Regions from separate parts of the Homo sapiens genome. Here regions 2 and 3 are each linked to region 1. Evidence: promoter capture Hi-C in human tissues and cell types (Jung and others, 2019). All regions are on one chromosome and are shown on one strand. Each heading gives the region's core, a stretch centred on a gene start or on the middle of the fragment in contact. The rest is flanking DNA. Distances are from core to core; before and after follow the strand shown. Region 1 holds the start of PCDH10 (protocadherin 10). Region 2 overlaps PCDH10-DT (PCDH10 divergent transcript). Region 3 overlaps PCDH10 (protocadherin 10).

What was found. Contacts are between HindIII fragments. The study calls those that stand out against the background at their distance.
Region 2: a contact is called between a fragment that was not itself captured here and the fragment with the promoter of PCDH10 in region 1, in 2 of the 25 tissues and cell types used here (hippocampus and psoas muscle).
Region 3: a fragment that was not itself captured here is called in contact with the fragment with the promoter of PCDH10 in region 1 in 2 of the 25 tissues and cell types used here (hippocampus and pancreas).

Annotation. Positions count from the first base shown.
Region 1 is chr4:133,148,035-133,152,366 of GRCh38, forward strand. It overlaps PCDH10 (protocadherin 10), which reads left to right and starts at 1,260. Exons shown (of 5, transcript NM_032961.3): 1 at 1,260-4,332. The coding sequence starts at 2,107. It overlaps PCDH10-DT (PCDH10 divergent transcript), which reads right to left and starts at 1,082. Exons shown (of 9, transcript NR_125885.1): 1 at 995-1,082. RefSeq lists an enhancer at 1,004-1,063 and a silencer at 1,174-1,313. The HindIII fragment of the contact is 10,822 bases long and covers 1-4,332 here.
Region 2 is chr4:133,110,767-133,115,099 of GRCh38, forward strand. All of the region lies in intron 7 of PCDH10-DT (PCDH10 divergent transcript), which reads right to left. Among named protein-coding and RNA genes, the nearest start is that of PCDH10-DT, 36 kb to the right of the region's middle. The HindIII fragment of the contact is 3,323 bases long and covers 871-4,193 here.
Region 3 is chr4:133,189,637-133,193,819 of GRCh38, forward strand. PCDH10 (protocadherin 10) reads left to right here. Exons shown (of 5, transcript NM_032961.3): 5 at 505-4,183. The coding sequence ends at 524. Among named protein-coding and RNA genes, the nearest start is that of PCDH10, 42 kb to the left of the region's middle. The HindIII fragment of the contact is 6,018 bases long and covers 1-4,183 here.

The DNA.
Region 1 (4,332 bases), core at 10-2,509:
GCACTCACAGCTGGTCAAGCGCGTCCTTCGGAACTCGGGGAGGCTCCGTTGGGGCTTACACAGAGCTAAGCCCTGGGCCAGGGAGGATGGATGCAAGTACCGTGCATGTGCAAACGTGTTCGCAGATACCCGCAGCGGTGCACACTCGGGCCCCTCGTGTGCACGGGCCCTGCCCACCACCCCGCCCGCGTTCGCCGCCGCCCCACTGTCCTCATCCCGCGGGCTGACCCCAGGATTGGCAGAAATCAGTGGTCTAATCTAGCATGGTGGGTAAAGGGATCGATCTCCAATTGCCAAAAAAAAAATAGAAAATAGCCGGTGTTCCCAGCCGCTGCGTGGCACTTGGCCGCACAAGGCGCAGGGATATCAGAGGCGCTTTGCAGCGCTTGGCGGTGCTGTGTGCCGGATGCCCCAGAGCCCGGCGTTAGGATGGCGGGCTTGTAGGAAGCGGCTCAAATCAACTCCTCAGTCACTGATGAACGCGCTCACGGCTCGAAGCTAGGTCCTCGAGTGAGTTAATCTACTTGGTAAGTATTTTGTGAATATGTATTTTGGGAGGAAAGAAGCACGTCGAACGCGTCTGCCCGTCTGTAAGCGCTGTCATCCCCACATCCTTTAGCGTGAATTCCTCCGCTTTTTAGGAGTCACCTCCACCCCCTACTCCGTATGCTTCGCGCCTTTCCTCACGGCCCCGTCAGACCCCCTCACCTTTAGATTGACACATGCCATATAATACTCACTTTTAAAATGCCCTGCCAGTCTCTGCTAGGGTCCCTTAATTAGGTAACCCTTGCCAATTAGTGGGCCCTGCGCTACTTTTTCCCTTCTCGATGATTTATTTCCATGATGCGTATTAGGGAAAATACCTTAAAGGAAAAAGAATGTTAGCATCATTGGAAATCCCGCTCCTAGGAGAGGATATCGCAGCTGTTGCTATTATGTTTTCGCATTTGCTGATGCAAACAGGGGAACCTCTCTATTCCCTCCCCATTACCTGCGGCTGGGGACTGGGAACTTTCCGCGGCATTGTCCCCAGCCAGCGCCTCGGGACCTGCGGGGCTGTTCTCGCTCTCACACTCACACTCACCCCGGCCGCTCGGGCGAGAGTTCTGTCCCGCCCCGCCCGGCTGCCGCGTGACGTGTCTGTTTGGCGGCCAGTTTGGCCAATCATCGGCAGCTCGGTGGGTGGTGCTCCTGGGCGATTGGTTGGCAGAATGAGGGCGCTGCGCAAAAACGGAGAAGCCGAGCGCTCGGAGCTCAGAAACTGCCAGCCCAGACCACAGGCTCAGAGGCTGAAGCAGGAGGAAGGAAGGACTGGAAGGAAAAAGAGACAGGTTAGAGGGAAAGAGGCTTGGGAAGAAAACAGCAGAAAAGAAACTGCTCATTACACTTACAGAGAGGCAAGTAACGGTGGAGATGAGGACAGAGGGAACCAAGACTCTGAAAGACAAAAAATACAAATAGAGCGAAAGAGGAAAAAAATGTCAAGAAGAACATCCATCCGGAGAAATGAAGAGAATGAAAGTTTTAAGCTGCAGAGCCGTTCTGTGCTTTTCCGGCACAAAATTATATCGCTGATTTTAAGCCCTTTTGCATTTGCCAGCCGTTGACATTAAGAGGCATGTTTAACGGTGCCAACAGCATCTCCTTTTCCTTCTCCTCTTCCTCTTCTTCTTCTTCCTCCTCCTCCTCCTCTTTTTCCTCCTCCTCGTTCTCCTCCCATCAGCAAGAAGACAAACCGAGGACAGTCTTGAAATATCGAAATTTCCTCTTTGGGATTTGCCAGCGCCAAGACTGTCGGAATAAAGGACGCTGACTATTGTATTATTGTTATTTTATTAATTAGTCAGTGGAAAGATTACAGATGAGGAAAGGGGACGCCTGTCACCCTTCCTGTGCTAAGATTTAAAAAAAAATGAGGCTGGATTGCGGGAAGCTCTAAAATGAAGCAAAAGGAGTAAGATTTTTAAAGACAGAAAGCCACAGGAGCCCCCACGTAGCGCACTTTTATTTGTATTTTTTCAGATTTTTTTTTGTTTCGTGGTGGTGGGGGAGGTGATTGGGTGGCTGACTGGCTGCGGGAAGCTACTTCCTTTCCTTTTGGAGATGATTGTGCTATTATTGTTTGCCTTGCTCTGGATGGTGGAAGGAGTCTTTTCCCAGCTTCACTACACGGTACAGGAGGAGCAGGAACATGGCACTTTCGTGGGGAATATCGCTGAAGATCTGGGTCTGGACATTACAAAACTTTCGGCTCGCGGGTTTCAGACGGTGCCCAACTCAAGGACCCCTTACTTAGACCTCAACCTGGAGACAGGGGTGCTGTACGTGAACGAGAAAATAGACCGCGAACAAATCTGCAAACAGAGCCCCTCCTGTGTCCTGCACCTGGAGGTCTTTCTGGAGAACCCCCTGGAGCTGTTCCAGGTGGAGATCGAGGTGCTGGACATTAATGACAACCCCCCCTCTTTCCCGGAGCCAGACCTGACGGTGGAAATCTCTGAGAGCGCCACGCCAGGCACTCGCTTCCCCTTGGAGAGCGCATTCGACCCAGACGTGGGCACCAACTCCTTGCGCGACTACGAGATCACCCCCAACAGCTACTTCTCCCTGGACGTGCAGACCCAGGGGGATGGCAACCGATTCGCTGAGCTGGTGCTGGAGAAGCCACTGGACCGAGAGCAGCAAGCGGTGCACCGCTACGTGCTGACCGCGGTGGACGGAGGAGGTGGGGGAGGAGTAGGAGAAGGAGGGGGAGGTGGCGGGGGAGCAGGCCTGCCCCCCCAGCAGCAGCGCACCGGCACGGCCCTACTCACCATCCGAGTGCTGGACTCCAATGACAATGTGCCCGCTTTCGACCAACCCGTCTACACTGTGTCCCTACCAGAGAACTCTCCCCCAGGCACTCTCGTGATCCAGCTCAACGCCACCGACCCGGACGAGGGCCAGAACGGTGAGGTCGTGTACTCCTTCAGCAGCCACATTTCGCCCCGGGCGCGGGAGCTTTTCGGACTCTCGCCGCGCACTGGCAGACTGGAGGTAAGCGGCGAGTTGGACTATGAAGAGAGCCCAGTGTACCAAGTGTACGTGCAAGCCAAGGACCTGGGCCCCAACGCCGTGCCTGCGCACTGCAAGGTGCTAGTGCGAGTACTGGATGCTAATGACAACGCGCCAGAGATCAGCTTCAGCACCGTGAAGGAAGCGGTGAGTGAGGGCGCGGCGCCCGGCACTGTGGTGGCCCTTTTCAGCGTGACTGACCGCGACTCAGAGGAGAATGGGCAGGTGCAGTGCGAGCTACTGGGAGACGTGCCTTTCCGCCTCAAGTCTTCCTTTAAGAATTACTACACCATCGTTACCGAAGCCCCCCTGGACCGAGAGGCGGGGGACTCCTACACCCTGACTGTAGTGGCTCGGGACCGGGGCGAGCCTGCGCTCTCCACCAGTAAGTCGATCCAGGTACAAGTGTCGGATGTGAACGACAACGCGCCGCGTTTCAGCCAGCCGGTCTACGACGTGTATGTGACTGAAAACAACGTGCCTGGCGCCTACATCTACGCGGTGAGCGCCACCGACCGGGATGAGGGCGCCAACGCCCAGCTTGCCTACTCTATCCTCGAGTGCCAGATCCAGGGCATGAGCGTCTTCACCTACGTTTCTATCAACTCTGAGAACGGCTACTTGTACGCCCTGCGCTCCTTCGACTATGAGCAGCTGAAGGACTTCAGTTTTCAGGTGGAAGCCCGGGACGCTGGCAGCCCCCAGGCGCTGGCTGGTAACGCCACTGTCAACATCCTCATAGTGGATCAAAATGACAACGCCCCTGCCATCGTGGCGCCTCTACCAGGGCGCAACGGGACTCCAGCGCGTGAGGTGCTGCCCCGCTCGGCGGAGCCGGGTTACCTGCTCACCCGCGTGGCCGCCGTGGACGCGGACGACGGCGAGAACGCCCGGCTCACTTACAGCATCGTGCGTGGCAACGAAATGAACCTCTTTCGCATGGACTGGCGCACCGGGGAGCTGCGCACAGCACGCCGAGTCCCGGCCAAGCGCGACCCCCAGCGGCCTTATGAGCTGGTGATCGAGGTGCGCGACCATGGGCAGCCGCCCCTTTCCTCCACCGCCACCCTGGTGGTTCAGCTGGTGGATGGCGCCGTGGAGCCCCAGGGCGGGGGCGGGAGCGGAGGCGGAGGGTCAGGAGAGCACCAGCGCCCCAGTCGCTCTGGCGGCGGGGAAACCTCGCTAGACCTCACCCTCATCCTCATCATCGCGTTGGGCTCGGTGTCCTTCATCTTCCTGCTGGCCATGATCGTGCTGGCCGTGCGTTGCCAAAAA
Region 2 (4,333 bases), core at 1,282-3,781, 36 kb before region 1:
ATCAAGGTAATTACATTACCCTAACCATGATTGGTTTACAGCTTGTAAGAAGAAATTCTGGCAAATGAGACATGGAATGTAAAAGTCTTCTGAGTGGTGGAACTTCTTTGGATATTATTTTTCTCTTAAAAAGAGACAGATGACCTGTAGATATCACAAAATGATAGTTTATTATGAACAAAAAATTCCAAGATATTCAAAATTTTGCCAAAAGTGGACAAATCTTTAAACAATTACACATGAACAAAACTATTTCAAAACATGCAAAACCTAAAGTTCCTATACCATTAACATTCATCTATATCTGATTTAAGTAATAATAACAATCAATTAATGAAATAATTGTATTAAAATTAAAAAATCCTCTTGGAAAGAAAGCAGCAGGCTTGAATGTCTTTGCTAGAGATTTTTATTAAAATCTCAAAAACAATTTAAATATATATAAATCATTTAAGAGAACTGAAAAAGAGGATATGCACCTTCTATACCACAACCTGACAAGGACAAAACCAAAAAGAAAAGTTATAGTTTTATCTCACCTATGAATACATGTAAGAAAATACTTAGCAGTTTTTGTAATTTACTAATATTTATAATTTTATAAGCATTAATACATTTGACGAATTACATAAAAAGGATAATATATCATGTCTAAGTTGGATTTATACCAATAAAGAAAAGTTGTCTCAATATTGGTAAATCTATATTTGTATTCTGCCATCTTAAGATATTTTAAAAATCACATGGAATTCTCAATACAGACAGACAAAACATTGTAGTACTCATTATAAAAATGTAAGCAGACTCTAATGGAGAAATTCCTTAGACTTAGAAGATCTAAAGAGCTTTACAAAAATATATTTAATTTTGAAAGTTTTCCTTTTGAGATTGGTGACAAGATTGGGAACCAGAAAATATGGATTTCAATGAACACTGTGCTGGAATCTGCCATCAGTGTAGTAAGGCAAGAGGAGAAAATAAAAATTTATACAAATTTTAAGAAAAATAATAAGACTATATTTCAATAAAATACCCAGTAAGGAATAGTTAAATTATTTGAATTAGCAAGAATTTAGCAATGCTGTAGCACACGTACCAATAATAAATCAATGAAAATCATTTTGCATGTTATTAATAAAATATTATCAAGTTCTCAGTAATGAATACATAAATGATGTGCAAGATTAAAAAAAAATTATTGATGAATTTTAAAGAATTAAATAAATCCAGATACATAGTATTACATGGATTGGAAAAATCAGTACTGCAGAGATCTGAATCTCCTCCTAATTTGTAGACTAATTTAATGTAATCATAAACCAAACTTTTAGTAGGGTGTATGTGTGGAATTTGACCAGTTAATTCAAATATTTATGTGGAAATCAATGGTCAAGATCTTTTAAAATAATCACAGGATTGAAGCAAATACTCTATAAGATATTTAGGCTTGCTATAAAGCCACAATAATTAGGACAGTTTGGTACTGACACAAAGGCAGACAATGGAACAAGGAAACAGAATGGAGAGCTTGAACCCAGACCCATGCATTATAGATATTTTACTTATGAGAAAGAAGCAATGTAGATTTGTCAGAAAAGAATTGTATGGAAATATCAGACTTCTCAAGAAATGGGATAATTAGGTATCTACATGAAAAAAATTAAACAGGACCAAACCAATCACACTAGGCAAAAATAACACCAGGTAGATTATAGACGTATATGTCAAAAAATAATTAAAAAGCAAAAGCAAGCAAATAAAAAACTCTGCGAAGGCTTAAGAGAATAACATAGTAAAACAGGATAGTATCTTTATAATCTTGGGGAAAAAAATAAACAAAACACCAAAAGTACTTTAAAGTGAGTAAGTTTCTTTTTTTCTTTAAACTGTTCATCAAAAAAAGATGAAGAAAGTAAAAGGATGTCACAGCACAGAAAAAGATAATTGCAACACATAACACTGACAAAGGATTTAAAAGTGGAATATGAAAGGAACTCAAAAAAAATCAATCAAAAAACCACAGCAAACAATGTTTTTAAATGGTCAAAAGACTTGAAGAGAAACTACAAAAAGAGAAAATTTAAATACCCTATAAACCCAAATGGTGTTCAAGGTTATTAGTAAGCAAGGAATTCCAAATTAAAATCACAATACCACTAAACAGCCACCAGTTTGCAACAATCATAAAGCCTGAAAACATCAGTTGATTCTTACTGTATGTAGCACCCAGAATCATTAAAACTGCAGACAAAAGCATATATTGCTGTAATAACTTTTGAATGCATACATTCGAGTCACCACTTCCGCTTCATACATACAGTAATGTTTGTGCATGTATTATAGAAAATATATAGGATTGATCATAGCAGCACTATTATACCTCCCACCAAACAACCAAATACACAATCAAATGGATTAATAAATTGTTGTATAAGCATATAATGGAATACTATGCAGCATAAAGGGGAAAATCAAAAGCTACAACCAACAACATGGGTGAATTTTATATAAACATGTTATTCAGTGAAGATAACACCATAGGATACTGCATACCACAAAATTTGGTTATATAAAGTTCAAAACAGGGCAAAACTAAACTATATTAGTTAGGGTTATATACACAGATTTCAAGATTCTAAAGGAAGGAAATTCTTCCCACTTTCTGGGGGAATTCAAAAAATCAGAAACCAGATAAATGCAGGTAACTGTCTCGCTTTCAGAAAAAAAAGTCAGGGCATTGCTGCCTCCTTGATCCTAGCTACTTAAAGTACCTAATGTTATGTATGGGAGCATTATCTATGATAATTAATTTATTTATAGTTTGTGGCATAATTTTTACCATGTGCTGTAATAAAAAAATCTATCTGAAACAAATACCAAGACATTCATGAGTGCATGCTATATTTTTCCACCCACATAAAAATTACCACAAAGCTTCTTACATTCATTATTCTCAAGTAAATCAAAATGATAATTGGTATTTGAAATGAACTAAATGACTAGATACTTCACAGATAGAGTCATTATCATCTCAAAACCTTTTAAGGATTACTATCAATGATTTAAATTTGATGGTTTTGCTAACGCTGAAATGAAAAGATTATGACTTTTCAAAGAAATGTCATATGGTGTGATATAGAAAAGAACAGCAACAGCAAATGAATCATGTCTATTGGTAACCTCAAGGAGATCTGAGTTGCTGGATAACATAATATTTAAAATTTAAAAATCTTTTTTTTTAAATTAAAAGTATGTGCAAAGATCATGGCTACCTGGAATTCAAGAAAGAGTTCTGTTGGTCAAACATCTTAATTTGAGCATCACTTAAGCATAGTATTCACTAGAACAATTATAGCATTATTACATTCTTTACTTCTGCACCCTCCATATTAACTATCCAAATGGCTCCTTAGAGCAATACAAGCTGTGGATTGTACTGTTAAGATGGAAACTTTGTGACGTTAAGCTGCTATCACAGGTAACATACTTTCTTCTGTGACGGCAATAGGATTGATTATATTAAAAGAGGCCTTGCATTCTTCTTTCTGCACTTCCCATAAATCTTTAGGACTATAAGCATGTAGGCAGACACAAAAGCAAAGCAAGGTGTGTGTTGTTTACAGTTGTAATACAACTGATTTCTCTTGTGCCTCTAACTCTCATCACCAAAAACCAAAGCCCAAAGCTTAGTCTTGGAATTTTTATATTTCAAATCTTTCCTTTCCTTATCCCCACATTTGTCAGTCACAGTCTGGCAAGGCTAACTTCGTGCGTATTTCACCACTGGGAACTTTATATTCAGTGGCGTATGGACTGGATGTTGATTTTGAATCTCAAAAAATTTGTTATTTAAAAATAAAAGAAAAATTACCTTGGAAATAACCTTGTAAAGGCACTTCAAATCTTTCTTTTAGCTGAAAAAAAAAAACCTAAAAAGCCAAAAACAGAACGTAATATTCTTTTCTTGTCTGGTTTCAGTCAGACCTTATAAAAAGGAAATAGAGAAAGAAAAATTGCTAAAACTGAAGCTTTTTTGTCAGCTAAGAAAATACAAAGTCTCTAGAGGTTTCTCTTTTCCATTTCCTTGGTTTCTTCTGTCAAATTTTATAATAAAATCAAACACAAATGTGAAAAAGAACATATATTTTGTTTCTTCTAAAGAAATACCTAAACTTTATGTGGTGCTTTGAGAATTATTTAGCCCATATAATTTCTTTGATATTAAGAAAAATATACTAAAGTCCTGTTATGAGATGAGATGGTTTGTAATAGCACAGAATTTGAGTTAATATGATTTTAGATTTTGTTCAAGGGAGCTTAGTAACCAAAAGGA
Region 3 (4,183 bases), core at 1,373-3,872, 43 kb after region 1:
AAATGTGAGTCATCTTTAAATTATTTAACTACATAAACACTTTCTGGTACAGTTTTCCATAATAAATATTGGTTTAATATGTATAATTTATAGTTTATGAAATTAAATATAAAACAAGTTATTTATAGATTTTGCTAGAAACTTTTTCTAGAAATGTAAGGGCCACACATTTTTTTCTATACTCTGTGCATAAATAGTGAAGTGTAGGGATTGTTTTATGTAGATAACTTTAAAAAGTTAATCTTCACAAATTTCATCTTTGGTATATAAAATGTACATTTCCCATGCAAAACTAATTTATAAGAATATCAAAATTATCATTCTCAGAAAACCAAACAACAGAATGGCTGTGACTACTAGCAGTGAAAAAGTTTGACACTACATGTGTTTGGTATGAGGGTACAACTAGTTTCTAACTGTATTCTTTCTTTTACAATAATGTGTAATTCTAAACTCCAAAAGTCAACCTCTTTTTCTTAGAGTATTTTTCTTTCTTTTTCACAGCACGGAAAAGGATATGCTAGTCAATTCTACAGGACTTACCTGAAGCAGCATGATTTGCACAAAGTCGACCAACAAAAGCATCAACTTTTCAACTTCATTATCTTGGCCATCCAGTTAGTCATGTGTAACTGAGTATTAGATTTCGGATGGAGTCATCATGGCCAATTATAGGACCTAATTGCTCTCAGCAGGCCTGAGAAATGAGTTGAAATGTGCAGAACTGTAGAAACTTTAGAGGCAACAGATTTTGCCTCCCCGATCAGTGTGTGCCTGTTTACAGCACTATCTATCTTTCTCTCTCCAAATGTCACTGAGCCCTTTAGATGTTTATATTCACCACGAGAAGCCAGTCATAAAGATAAAGGAAATTTGTGCATTATAAATGCAATATCACTGTTTTAAACTTGACTGTTTTATATTATTTTTGTGTGATCAAGTGTTCCGCAAGCTATTCCAACTTTACAAGAGAAATTGTGATTATGTTCTTTTCACCTGTGGGTTATAAAAAATGTTGTATTCTGAAGACCCACAAAATATCAAAGACATTCTGTAGTTTATACACCGTGTTGCAAAGTGTTTACTGTACTATTTCAAAGCTTCTAAATAAATATAAAATATATATATTATATTATATAATTTTCCTAAAATGTGGTACAACTCAGTTGGTTTTTAAATGGATGCATACAGTCCACATCATACAATAAAATAAAAGGTAATTCAGGGTCCCAAAGACAAACTTACTAAGAAAAAATCATTAATAGTTTTCTCCCAATTTCCATATCTTACTCAACCGTGTTTTTCCTTGTTTAAAAGAAAATGATGCTCTAAGCTACAAAATTTTGTCAAAAACTCATATTGAATTTTCAATGCCAAAGATGTAGCTATTGATGTTATCAGACAGAGCACTGACTATGTACTATCAAACTATCTAACAATCTGCATAAGTCTGATTCTATTTCTATGACTTTGAATTTAGAATCACTTAAAGCTTTTATAAAGAATCGATAAATTCACCTGTATTTGTTGTTAGAAAAAAACTGGGTGTCTGTACATTTTGTGGTGTAAAATATGTAATTGAAGATTACTATTTTAAGAAGTCATCAGTCATATCACTCACACAGAATTTTATTTTACATAGTTTTGTGACTTAATTACACATGAATATAAAATCTATAATTCTATATGAATATATAGAGATATAGAAACATCTGAACTGGTAAAGAATAACTATAAAATATGAAAGCTCTAAATTTAAAATAAATTTAGAGATAGAATCATGGTACATTATTGTTTCAGTATTCCATGTGAAAATTTTATAGCTTAAATGTAGTCAGTGTTTGATTAATGAAAAAATTCTTCATGAGTCAGCCTTCAAAAGTTAAGCTTGCCTTTTACTTTTATGTCAACAATATTAATTATTAAATTTAGTAAGACGCACTTTCCTTTCTTTTATATATTTTTTCTACTGTTGTGTATGCCTTGTTAGAACACATTCGAGAGAGGAAAAAAATCAGAGAATATAAGATAATCTTTCAAGCAAAAAACAGAATTGTCACAGCTCCCCTCGCCCTCTAAACTATGATATCAAAACATCATATCAAAGCTTCAACATTATATCAAAATGTTTGCCCAGTTCAAATTAGAAACCTGTTTTGAAATACTTTCCTTAATTTTTAACTGATCTTATATTCAATGACAGTTTGAGCTGCACTGTGTTATTAAAGAATAGACTAAAACTTAACATTTGACAAATGTTCTTCATCAAATTTTATGTAACTTAAGTGGAAATTTTTCCCTAGATTTAACTTTAAAATACATATATATACACACACACACACACACACACACACACACACTTAGGTCCTGATATGTACATTTAGAGTGATATATTGGTATCACTCATTTGACTGTTATCAAATTAGATATTAATATATCATATTCCAATCAGTTCATATATCAAAATAATGTATGTAATGTTCCAGCCTTTTGAAGTCTCTTTAAACATATATGAAGCTAACAGATCATATGTAATACAAAAAGCACATAAATTCACTAAGTGCAGCAGTAACATTTTCTTAAACTTTGGCATTACTACATTAATATTTTGAATGATAGACTATTTTAGTAAGGAAATGTTTATACATAATTTAACTGGAAAAAAGTCTGTTTGTTCCAACTCTTTTTTTTAGCAAGAAAATGATTTTCTTGTTGAGTCACTCTGCTTTAATTAAAATGTTTCACGCATCATTTTGCAATCATGGGTGAATATCCACATCCATCTTCCTTACTGCATGCATTGAAAATAAGATTATACTCACTTCATGTATAGTAATTATATTGTCATTTACCTCAAAGACATTTTCTTTAATTATTTAACCTTTTATATCATTGTATATAATCTCCTTTGAACCAACTTTTTTATTATATATTTGTGTATTAGTTATTTTCATATATCCTAGGAACTAGTTATACTAACTTACATTTTAGTTATCATCAATCTACAAAACCAAAACCAGAACTTCTTCCTAATTTGCGGGACAAATAGAATTGTTTAAGGATAAAATGCTACATTATTAGGTCATTAATCAACTTATCTGTTGCATCCAAAGTAAATTAGAAGTTACAACAGAGTAAGGATATGATTCTTGTAAGTTGGTTAAAATGTTTTCTTCCAATGAGGGGGACTATAAAATGGAAAGTGCAACCAACAAATAATGAAGGTTTCTAATTAAGCATTTACTAGATTAATATATCAAGGAATTTTAGGATAGGTTTTCTCTTTAATCTGGTCATTCTAATATCCAATCTTACATAATTTTATATACATCAAAGAATAATATCCATCGTATTAGACAGTATTTCGTCAATAAATTATTTCAGAAAAAAAAATCATGTCATTTACTCCTTGTTAACATGGTTAGTTTTAGAGCAGTCAAAGTCAAAAAAAATTTCCTGTGGAAACAGTGTCTTAATGTTTCAAAGGTATGTCAAAAGACAATTTTTAGAAAATATTTCATCCACATGTAGAATTCTAATTTTTAACGTGTGAACATAGTTTGGTGAAATCATCTTAAATCAAATTTAAATATCACATCAGAATTACTTCACAGATATAATAGCGTCAATGATATATGTATCATCTTTTCTTGGCAAATATTAAGGAAATATGTGTATTTTATTTTTTAAAGATATTAAATGCACTGCCTTTATCAAACATTGCAAATTAAGAACTATAGTAGAATATTTAAATATTTTAATTTCTCATTGTTTTATTTGTTAATTGGATTGTAATTTGCCATCAGATTCTCTGTATTATAGAAGCTATCTTGCTTCTTCAATAAGAGGAGGAAAAAGAATCTCACAATTCCCAATATAATCTTTAACAACTGTACGTTAATTGTACCATTTTACCTTCTAAACATTATTTACTGGAGCTCAGTTAGTCTTTAAAACAATTACTCAGGCAGAGTGTGGCAAAAGTTCAGCAAGATCAAGAAAAGTATTTAAGTTATTGACTGATCATAGCACTGTTATTTGTCATTGCATGTGTTTTTCCCCCTCATGTTTCTATGTGTGCTATTGATACCCAAGGAACTCAAAAATACTTAAAATATTGGTATACTTGATGATTTTTCTGAAAATCTTATATTTTTCATATTACAAATTCTTGAGTTCTTTA